3 separate regions of the Homo sapiens genome follow, and all the other regions are linked to region 3. The links are contacts of gene promoters, found by promoter capture Hi-C in human tissues and cell types (Jung and others, 2019). All regions are on one chromosome and are shown on one strand. Each heading gives the region's core, a stretch centred on a gene start or on the middle of the fragment in contact. The rest is flanking DNA. Distances are from core to core; before and after follow the strand shown. Region 1 overlaps KIF6 (kinesin family member 6). Region 2 overlaps MOCS1 (molybdenum cofactor synthesis 1). Region 3 holds the start of APOBEC2 (apolipoprotein B mRNA editing enzyme catalytic subunit 2).

Evidence for each region. Contacts are between HindIII fragments. The study calls those that stand out against the background at their distance.
Region 1: a contact is called between a fragment that was not itself captured here and the fragment with the promoter of APOBEC2 in region 3, in 1 of the 25 tissues and cell types used here (dorsolateral prefrontal cortex).
Region 2: a contact is called between a fragment that was not itself captured here and the fragment with the promoter of APOBEC2 in region 3, in 1 of the 25 tissues and cell types used here (dorsolateral prefrontal cortex).

The regions. Positions count from the first base shown.
Region 1 is chr6:39,387,113-39,390,865 of GRCh38, reverse strand. The region is part of intron 15 of KIF6 (kinesin family member 6); the gene reads left to right. LOC107986594 (a long non-coding RNA gene) reads right to left here. Exons shown (of 4, transcript XR_001744111.2): 4 at 1,426-2,557. Among named protein-coding and RNA genes, the nearest start is that of KCNK16, 66 kb to the right of the region's middle. The HindIII fragment of the contact is 5,758 bases long and covers 1-3,753 here.
Region 2 is chr6:39,906,433-39,909,739 of GRCh38, reverse strand. MOCS1 (molybdenum cofactor synthesis 1) reads left to right here. Exons shown (of 11, transcript NM_001358530.2): 10 at 638-685; 11 at 2,623-3,307. Among named protein-coding and RNA genes, the nearest start is that of DAAM2-AS1, 11 kb to the right of the region's middle. The HindIII fragment of the contact is 4,248 bases long and covers 1-3,307 here.
Region 3 is chr6:41,051,306-41,054,592 of GRCh38, reverse strand. It overlaps APOBEC2 (apolipoprotein B mRNA editing enzyme catalytic subunit 2), which reads right to left and starts at 1,391. Exons shown (of 3, transcript NM_006789.4): 1 at 1,115-1,391. The coding sequence starts at 1,245. The HindIII fragment of the contact is 7,265 bases long and covers 453-3,287 here.

The DNA of each region.
Region 1 (3,753 bases), core at 243-2,742, 1.7 Mb after region 3:
ATGATCCTCCATGTTAGTACCAAAAAAACTGCTTCTCACATGACAGCTGAAATTGTCACTCAGAGTTCGGAGCCTCTAACTAGACCTTCCATTTCAAAGAGGCCCCTCAGGCAGGAAACATATTCTGCATATTCTCCCCACACCCCAGTTCTACAACTGATGTTTATATTAACCAGATTTTGCCCAGAAACTCTAGTAGTATAGTCAAACAGACAAATAGCATTTATCTGGGTCCAGAGCTCTTAGTAATTACCCAGGACCCCAGACTCCAGTATGAATACAACTTAGTCTTCCCCAGCCCTAGTCCTCCACTCAACCTTCCCTTGCCGCCCCTGTCCCAAACCAGTATATACTTGGCCTCTGCATTATTGTCCCAGCAGTTCTCTCAGACTGAGGTGCCCTTCCCAAGCGCACCTTAACACCCTTGCTCTTTTCTGAGCCTACTCAATTCGCCTGTAGTAATTATGCCTTTCCCAATGTCTCCTTTCCCTCCTCTAAATGTATCTCTACCATTGATTTGACATTTAGCCGCTTGACCTGTCATCTTAACCATGTAGTATCCTTCCAATATGTCTGAAAGTGCCTGAATACCTAAAACGAGTGTGGCATATCATACATGCTGGTGCGTTATCCCTTGCTCCTCTGAAAGATCTTGAGATATAGCAAAGCAGATATTATTGCAGTTATAATATTTTTCCATTTTTCAAATGATAACATTGAGGTTAGAGACGTTGGTTAGCCCATTCAACTAAGAAGTAGCAAAACTGGGATTTGAACTCAACTTCGTCTACCTCCAGATTTGTAATTATTTCCTTTTTTTTTTTTTTTTTTTTTGGAGACAGAGTCTCATTCTGTTGCCCAGGCTGGAGTGCAGCGGCGCGATCTTGGCTCATTGCAACCTCTGCCTCCCAGGTTCAAGTGATTCTCCTGCCTCAGTGTCCCAAGTAGCTGGGATTACAGGTGCCCGTCACCATGCCCAGCTAATTTTTGTATTTTTAGTAGAGATGGAGTTTTGCCATGTTGGCCAGACTAGTCTTAAACTCCTGACCTCAGGTGATCCACCCACCTTGGCCTCCCAAAGTGCTGGGATTACAGGCATGAACCACCATGCCTGGCCCAGATTTGTAATTATTTTCTAGAATAACTGAAATAGCAAAGAGGTTTGCTTCATCTCAAGTCCAACTTCAAGTGATGGGCTATAGCTGCCCAGAGTGCTGTGTGGAAGAGCCAAACTCAGGCTCAGCAGGAAAGCAAACCATCCCTGATGGAGGAGCAAGGCCAGCCGTTGGTCCAGCACTTAAAAGAAAGAGCACACGGGCCACCTATTTGCTGATCCCTGTACTGCACTGACTTTCCTAGGTTAGGATAGAGCCTTCTACGAGTGTGTATATTCCACAGCACTTAGAACATAGTGCTTAACCGATAGTAGATGAGAGATAAGTATTTATTGTTTGATAGCAACATAAACATGTTGAATGAGGCACAGCATCCCAGAAATTGCAGGAGCAGCAGACAGCCACTCAGGGAGTCGTAAGTGAATAGCTCTCCTCCAGGCCAGCCAAGCAGCGTTCACGTGAATAATCTCAAACTAGCATGCGTGCAAAATAGAGTGTGAAGCTTATGGAAAATGGTTTTATTCAGAAGACTGAATACTGATGTAAAAAAATCAGTTTCACTTCTGCATGATGATAATACTTTCCCTAGAACTACTCAGTAACAGAGAAAACCCATATACCACACAGAGCACCACCTCCACATACCCTGCTCGCGGTCATATTTAAGGTCACCCGTCTCCTCTGGAGCTTTCCCGTGGATTGCTGTAAGCTCTGCTCCCCGCTGCCACCCACAATCCATCAATTAATGTATCAAAAGGGAGAGAAGGTGTTTCTAGCATGTACTGTGGTAAATTACTGAAGGAAAAATTACTAATTATGGACACTCCTGCAGGCAGAGCATTCCTTCCCTCCCCTACCCTTTTGGTTTTCAGCCCCATTCTGGGCTCCCTACTTCCCTCCCAGACTGTCTCCGGCCTCAGGCTGGGAGTTCTCTGTTTCCATTTCATCTCTTTTCCATACCTCTGGATGGGGATGTGTCCAGGAACCCAGGCCAAAACCAGCAAATTTATCACCGTGGTAATGACAGCAAGCTGCATGCTGAGTGAATTCTGCAATCCCCCTCAACTCCTTTTTTTGCCAAAACCCATAAAGCTGCAAGATCCAGCAGGTTACAGAGACTGTTATCTGCACATGAAGAATAGCTCTGTTAGAAATGCAATTAGGTATCAGCCATAAGGCTATTTTTGGAAGCTTGTTTGGGGGAAATAAAAAAAAACTTGCCATGTGGTGGGAGATGTTAGTCAATTCACCAAAACTGAGTATCACTAGCGGCATTGTAAAACAACCTTTATCAATATGTAACATTATAAAGACCCACCTTTTGTTCCCTGGTGGTGCCTCGTTGTTCTGAGAGTGAGTATTTATGCTTGTGGTGGCAAAATCCCCTCTTTATTTACGTGAGCAGCTCCTCCCAAACCAGGGGCAGTGGAGAATCCTTAAACCTGGTCATTCCAAAAAAAAAAAAATACTTCCTTAGGGTTTGGGAAAAAGGAACTTGGTCGTTCCAATAGGCGCTGAAGAAATTGTAACATACCAGGTTGAGCACACCTACTCTGGTCAAGGCATGGGGTTTGGAGGCACAGACTTGAGGAAGCATGTGTCAGGAGGCGCATTGTCAGGGAGGCTTATTACTGGGAAGGCTTATTAGCAGGGAGGTAGTTTCCAGGAAGCAGTGCAAACCAGTGTGTGCTCTAAAGGAGCAAGCCACTGTCCAGGCTCATTAGGAAGGCAGTACCCAGTCATATGAGAGGCTCGTGGTATAAGGCTGTGCCGGATACCCAGGAAACAGGCAGGGCACCAAAGCACCACTGACTCTCCATACTGCAGGATTAAAAAGCTTTTGATGACTCACTCTAAATCAAGAGATGTTTCTAAATGGTGTGTTGCATTTGTCACAGCAATATCTCCTTTTATTTGGAGCATGCATGTGCTATCCCATCTTAAAATTTAATTCAGCAGTGTTTGATGCAGCCTAGAGTCTCAGTCCAGCAGCAGCCTTATGTCCCCAACTTCTTTACTCTGCTTATATGGACAATAAGGGTCAAATTGCACTGAGTAGGGAAAAGATCCATTTGGGGCTGTGGCTGGCTCAGGTGTCAAGTCATTTTCCTGTTGGATCCAGGTTCACCAATACTCATCATTGGGTCAAGTTTCCACTTCCCCAAATCCCCCTCAGCACACTCCTGAAGTTCCCACCCTTCCCCCACATGGAATAAGGGTGCAATTATTGTTTAGTCCCAATGCCTGCCACGCTCTCTATGCATAATTCTCTCCAGTAGGGACACATGGAAACCAAGGCACAGACATGCAGGTGCCCCAGACCCTTTCCCAAGACAATGATGTGTCTGGAGATAGTGGCCTCCGAGGTATTACCTAAGGACTGGTGATGTTTGACCTCCATAAAGGGCAAGTCGAAGTAGAGAAATCAATCATAGCATCCTCAGATATGTGAAGATCCTATGCCAATGACAGAGGATCTTTTTCTGTGCTGATCCAGAAAACAGGCCAGGCACATAGCTGAAGATTATAGGGAAGCAGATGCAACTCCACATAATTAATTCCTTACATATAACTTAATGGAATAGCTCGAATACATACAAGTCAGAAGGGAAATGCCCATTTCCTTCTGTAGAAGGGA
Region 2 (3,307 bases), core at 57-2,556, 1.1 Mb after region 3:
CCTAGGGGGAAGCTGGCGAGAGTCAGCATCATCCCCACTACCACTCACTGCTGTTGGCCCTCTGGACTCAGGGTACAGTGATGCTTCTCCTTCCATGGGGAAAAGTCATAGCAGAGGCTGCACAGGAGAGGGGACCCCAGATTCTCTTGGGCTGTTTTACTAGGTGGGGAGAAGGGGGTGTCATTGCTTCTTTCTCATCCCACACGTGGCCTTCTGTTTAGGGAGGGCAGGGTCCTGATGTCCACAGACTGTTCTTTGGGCTCAGCCTTGAGCGACCTCGCAGTGCACATGTGGGGGCCTTTTGTCATACAGCTGAGTGCATGTGCTCGGGGCTGTCAAGCGCGTTTGTTTCAGTGAACTCTCCTCTCCCCGCCCTGTCCCTCTCCCGCTCCCCTGCTTTCCTCTCCCTCTCCCCTTCCCCTGCTTTCCTCTCCCTCTCCCCCTCCCCCTCCCCTGCTTTCCTCTCCCTCTCCCCCTCCCCCTCCCCTGCTTTCCTCTCCCTCTCCCCTCCCCCTCCCCTGCTTTCCTCTCCCTCTCCCCTTCCCCTGCTTTCCTCTCCCTCTCCCCCTCCCCTGCTTTCCTCTCCCTCTCCCCCTCCCCTGCTTTCCTCTCCCTCCCCATCTTTCCCTCACCCCAGGCATGTTCAGTATTTCCCAGATGAAGAACCGGCCCATGATCCTCATCGGTGGGTGACCCATCAGTACGTAACCACTCACCCTTGTCATTTGGGGATCTCGTGGGGTGGGAGCCGTGCCATAGGCACCCCCAGCTCCTGCATTTCATGCTGATTTCTCATCCTTGTTTTTCTTCTATTCCTCCTTCATCTCTTCTTAACCTTCAAGGTTTTACTGTTTCTTCCCCCACTGTTCATGATCCCCCTTACTATACCTGCCACAGAAATGATCCTTCTGTCTCACCAGACATCAGAGCAGGGGGATGGTCTGCCAGATTTAATGATCACTAAGTTAGTGGCTCCCTGAGAATTGAAATCCTGGTTAAAACAGAGGCCTTTTCCTCGGCTCTAAAATCTCCCATTTGGATAATGTGACAGGTGTCCTCTGTAGTACCCAATGATCCATGCACGGTGTATCTGGACCATGAGCCCCCACGGGTGGATGTGTGGCCAGACGTCTGTGCTGGGCAGATCTTGAGGCAGCAAGTTAATAATGTTACTCACATGTAACATGAGGTAATGATGGCCAAGACCTCAACTTCCCAATTCCTTAACTCTCAGGAACATCTGCATAGGATGTATCATCGTGTGTGTAGGATGCTTCAAACAAAAGCCCCCTGGTTTTAAGTCCTTATGTGGTCTCCTACCCCTGGGGGCTGGGCTGGTCACTGAGGAGCTGTAGGGTGGCTGTTGCCCCTCTGTCACGGTGCCCAGATTATAGCAGGTGAGGCCTTGACCCTTTGCTCGCAGTCAGTTCTGAGCCCCCTGAACTGTGCCACTAGGAAAGAAAAAGCAGGGGGGAGAAAAGATGAGAGGAAAGATCCTTTCTTTAGAGGTTAGAGCAGAGGGAACTCAGTGGCCCAGAGGGGAAGGCAGGCTAGAGACAGCCCAAGGACCATCTTTGCCCACTGGCTGCCCGGGAAAGCAAAGGTAGCTTGCCACTGGGAAGAAGACTCTCATCTCCTCTCCTCCCACCCCCAGCATCCAAGTCCTCTTGTTGGGCCCTGACCCATGCTGAGGCACCTTCATGGCCTTGATGGCATCTCCCCAGAAGGGAGGCTGCCCCTCTGACATTGACATGTCTGGGGCTTAGAGTATGATGCGAAGTGGGAAGCTGGGGGAGCATTTGCCTCATACTTTCAGAGATATTGAGTAACCAGTCTGCTTTCTATACAACCAAGAGTTGCCTAGGACAGGGCCTCTCAGAATTTCATGTGCATGTGAATCACTGGGGATTTTGTCCTTTTGGATTGACTTGGAAGGTCTGGGGTGGGATTCTGCATCTCTTGTGAGTTCTCAGGTGGTGCTGGTGCTGCTGGTGCTGCTGGTCCATAAGCCAACCACCCTTTGAGTAACAAGAGCCTGCACCATTCCCTAGGCCCTCTGCACCATCTGAATTAGCCCGTCAGTTTGTATGTGCTTCTCATGTGCTTCAGGGGACTTGAAAAACATTTAAGTAGATCACAAATTCCCCTTATTATCTTGTCTGTAAACTAAGTGGTTATATTAACTCTTCATGGAGAATGTGAAGATAAAAATAGGTGTAATTGGTAATTTAGAGTGAGACCTAGCTCTAGTTTTAAGAAAATGAAGGGACATTCAGAGGTCATGTGATCCAGGCCTCAACTTGGTGCTGCTTGAGAGAACTTGGGAATTGAGAAGGTTTTCATGTGGAGGGAACCCTGTGCCACGGTGGCACAGCAGTTTCTAGGAGGGCTGTTACCCTGTACATCACTGGGTGAGAAGGGCTGTGAACTTGGACTCTGGGTGCCATCTATCTGTGGATCTTCTACTTTGTCTTGTCCCACTATGCTTTTTGTTCTTCATTCCTCTTTCCCCGGTATGAAAGAGAACTTGAGGTGGGATAGGGAGAGGGTTGGGGAGTAGAGGTGGGAAAAAGAATTGCCTTTTGGACTTAGTGTTTCTTCTCTTTTCTTCTTGCCTTGCAGAGTTATTTTTGATGTTCCCCAATTCCCCACCAGCCAATCCAAGCATTTTCTCCTGGGACCCGCTCCATGTTCAGGGTCTAAGACCCAGAATGAGTTTCTCCAGCCAGGTGGCCACTTTATGGAAAGGATGCAGGGTCCCCCAGACCCCTCCTCTAGCCCAGCAGCGGCTGGGGTCTGGCTCCTTTCAGAGACACTACACTTCCCGTGCAGACTCAGATGCCAACTCAAAGTGCCTTAGCCCAGGTTCCTGGGCTTCTGCTGCCCCCTCAGGACCCCAGCTAACCTCAGAACAACTAACTCATGTGGACTCGGAAGGACGGGCAGCTATGGTAGATGTGGGCAGGAAGCCAGACACAGAGCGGGTGGCTGTGGCTTCAGCCGTGGTCCTCCTGGGACCGGTAGCCTTCAAGCTTGTCCAGCAGAACCAGCTCAAGAAAGGAGATGCCCTAGTGGTGGCCCAGCTGGCTGGAGTCCAGGCAGCCAAGGTGACCAGCCAGCTGATCCCTCTGTGCCACCACGTGGCCCTGAGCCACATCCAGGTGCAGCTGGAGCTGGACAGCACACGCCATGCCGTGAAGATCCAGGCATCTTGCCGGGCTCGGGGCCCCACCGGGGTGGAGATGGAGGCCCTGACCTCTGCTGCAGTGGCCGCCCTCACCCTGTATGACATGTGCAAGGCTGTCAG
Region 3 (3,287 bases), core at 142-2,641:
TTGAAAATCAGAAAACATCTGAGCTGGAAGGGACCTTACTACTATAGATCTTCATGTTATAAGTGCTAAAACTGTGGCTGACTGGAAAATCACTTGTCAAGCTTGAAATATCAAGTCCAAATTGCCACTCAGGGCTTCCTTTCCCCCTTGAAAGCATCATGCCTCCTTTCTTCCTGAAACTTCTCTTAGTCTCGCACCCACTCTGCCTGTGGTCATTCCTGGAGACCCCATGAAGGGAACGTTTGGTTCAAGGAGGAAATATGGCCTCATAGATTCTCTTTTTATTCTTTGCTCAGGATTTAGAAGGGTCTTCCACTACAGGAATAGAAAGGGAAGAGGAAGAAGACTACTTAGTTTTATTCCTGGAGATGGCATAATCTGGATAAGACAGAGGTACCCTGCACACAGCCCCCTCCTTGCAGTCTGTAGACCCTTTTCTTTGGGTCCCAGTTCCTCCAGGCAATGCCTGAGCATGTTGGAACAGCTCCTGTGTCCATAAGCTCCTGGGCTGCGTTATCTGCATGTAATTTCTCTGTTTCTCTGTGGGACAGCCCCTGAGGAGACTCAAAAGATTTAATAAGAAAAAAGCTGCTTCTGAGTCTTGGGAAAGGATGGATCTATCTTTCCTGTCTTGGGAGCATCTACTCCAGGAAGAAGCTCTAAAGAAAGGGCTAGAGGCCTATGGCTAGCGGAGAGACCCACTCAGGAACAGAGAAGTTGAGGGGAAGGGTTGCTTTGAACGGAGCCACATATAGATGTGCCAGTCTCATCCTCTGTCCTCGCCAAACTCCCTGGGACTAAGCTTCTACCCAGAGAGGCAGGTGGCCATCCCAATACCAGGAGGCCTGAAGGGTGGTTTTATTCTCTGGGCTTTTGCCTCCAAGGAGCTCCTCCTACCTCTCCCTGATTAGAGAGCCCAAGGTGTCACCCTGAGAAGCCAAGAGAATTTGCTGCTGGGTCCCCTACCACCCCTGCCGGGCCCACTGGTGCACTCTCACTGCTGCAGGGTTGTAGCTGTCCCTGACGCCTAATATAACCATCCTGAATTTCCACAGCCTAACCCAAGGCTGCACTCTTCTAGGGAGCAGAACCCTGACCCACATCTGAGGCTTACCCTGTGACAATCTCAAAGGGCGGCAGCTCAATCAGCTCTTTCAGCTTCTCAGGGTCGTCCAGGTTCTCCAGATCCTCCCCATTCTGGGAGGCAGCCTCAGTGGCCACAGCAGCCTCTTCCTTCTGGGCCATGGAGGGGCTGTGGCTCAGGAGTCACTGAGGGAGAGGAGAGAGGCAGGCAGGTCTGGGCCAGGCCCTGGCGGCAGAGTCCCAAGCAGCTGTCAGCAGCTAAATCTGGCTGGGGATGACGGGAAAAGGACCCAGCAGGCCAGGCTTCGTGCTTTCCCCACTTAGCCACAGGCTTTATAGCCAAGGCCTCCTGCCCCTCCCCCAGGCTCTCTCCCTCTATCTTTTTTTAATTGAGTGACAGCGGGTGCTGGGGTGGGGGAATGGAAAATCTGGCCATTAGTATCCCCTATTTATCAGTAGGCAAAGACAGGAACCTGGCAGGTGGGTATGGCTTGGCCTGCTCTCTTCTCCCTCTCCCTCTCAGCTCACCTTATGTTCTCCCCTTTGTTTCCCACCCAAATTCCCTAGCTCCACTGGGGGAGAGTGTGGAAGGGGCCCCAGGGCAGGCATCCTGAGATTTAGGAGGGTGGCCTTCTGAGATTTAAACAGGAGGAGATGTGTGTTGAAAGGGGCTGACTGCAAAAAGACCCAGGCCATTTGCTTTGGGGGAACGTGGGTTCAGGAAAGGAGGGGTCCTGGCAGAGGTGGGATCAAAACTGACAATTTGGGGAGTAAGTGTGTGAGTTATGACTCAAAAGCGGTGGGTGCTGATTTGCCTGTTACAAAGCCATAATGTAATGTCAAATCGATCAGGAGCCTCCCTGAGTAACAATAGCTGCCATTTACTTAGCTCAGAGATTTTGAAACAGGCCAGGCAGTGGGTTTAGGGGTTTAAATGAAATCAGATGCATGCTTGCCACAGCCATGGGAGGCGATGTGTATTATCCCAAGTTACAGGTAAACTGAGTCACAGAAGTGTGCAGAGCCGGGATTAAAATGCAGGCTTTTGTACTTCAGGCCAAATATTCAACCTCCATGCTATGTGCCCTCACAGTCAGTCTTTTATTCTTCTTAACAAATATTTATTGAGTATCTACTCTATGCCAGGTGCTGTTTCAGGTACTGGGAATATGGCAAAAGAACAAAGCAAATGAAAATCCCTGCTGTGATGATTTGTGGAGCTTGAGGAACTGAACAACAAATAAGGTAAGTAAAATACATGGTCTATTTTGTGATGACAAGTGCCAAGGAGAAAAGACAGGAAATGGAAACAGGAAGTGCTAAGAGGTGGGGTTACGTACTTATAGGATGGCCAGGGTGAAGGACTTTGAAAAGGAGACAATTGAAGAAGACGTGAAGAAGGCAAGGGAACTAATCATTTGGTTGTCTAAGAGGAAAGCGTTCCAAGGAAGGGAACAACGTGAGCAAAGGCTCTGAGAAGGGAGCATTCCTGGGGTGTTTGAGGAACTAGCGAGGACATACATCTGGGTGACTGAAGAGTTCTAAGAGATTAAGCCAGAGAGATAACAAGGGTAAAAGGGACTGGGGCCTTATGGGCTGTCATAAGTACCTTGCTTTTTCTCAGACTGAGGTGGGAAGCCATTGTCTCTGAACAGGTGAGACAGGTGGTCTGAGCACTTGGGAAGAGCAGAGGCAGGGGACCAGTGAGAAGCCTACTGAGGCCAGAGAGAGATGATGGGGGCCCATAGAAAAGACCCTGAGCCGGAACAGCAGCAGAGGATGGCTAGATGATTTTTGCAGCTCTCATGATGGGTACTTAGCAGAGGCAAAAGTCTTCGTGTTTGGAGCAGTGCAAACACTCTAGGCCATTCTCAGGGAAGCAGAAGGAAGGGGTCAGGGTCACTTGTAGGTTGAAAATGAGGAACCTAAGAACACTGGGGAACGGATCTGAAAACAGCTCCAAATGGGTTTGGCTGGTGGGGATGAGAGGGTAGGGCACCCTTTGGAGGGTCTGACTAAAGAAGAGGAGTCAAGATGGTTTGGAAGATTTAGGGCTCACTCCTCCAGAGAGTCTGAGCAGCAGAGTGCTCTGTTAGTGTGATGCCCAGCATTTTGGTTTGCCAGTCATGGTTTCTTCCTGTTGTCCAGACATAATTACTAATAGCACCCCTTTACTCCCAAAGGTGTCCCGCTGTGGACAATAA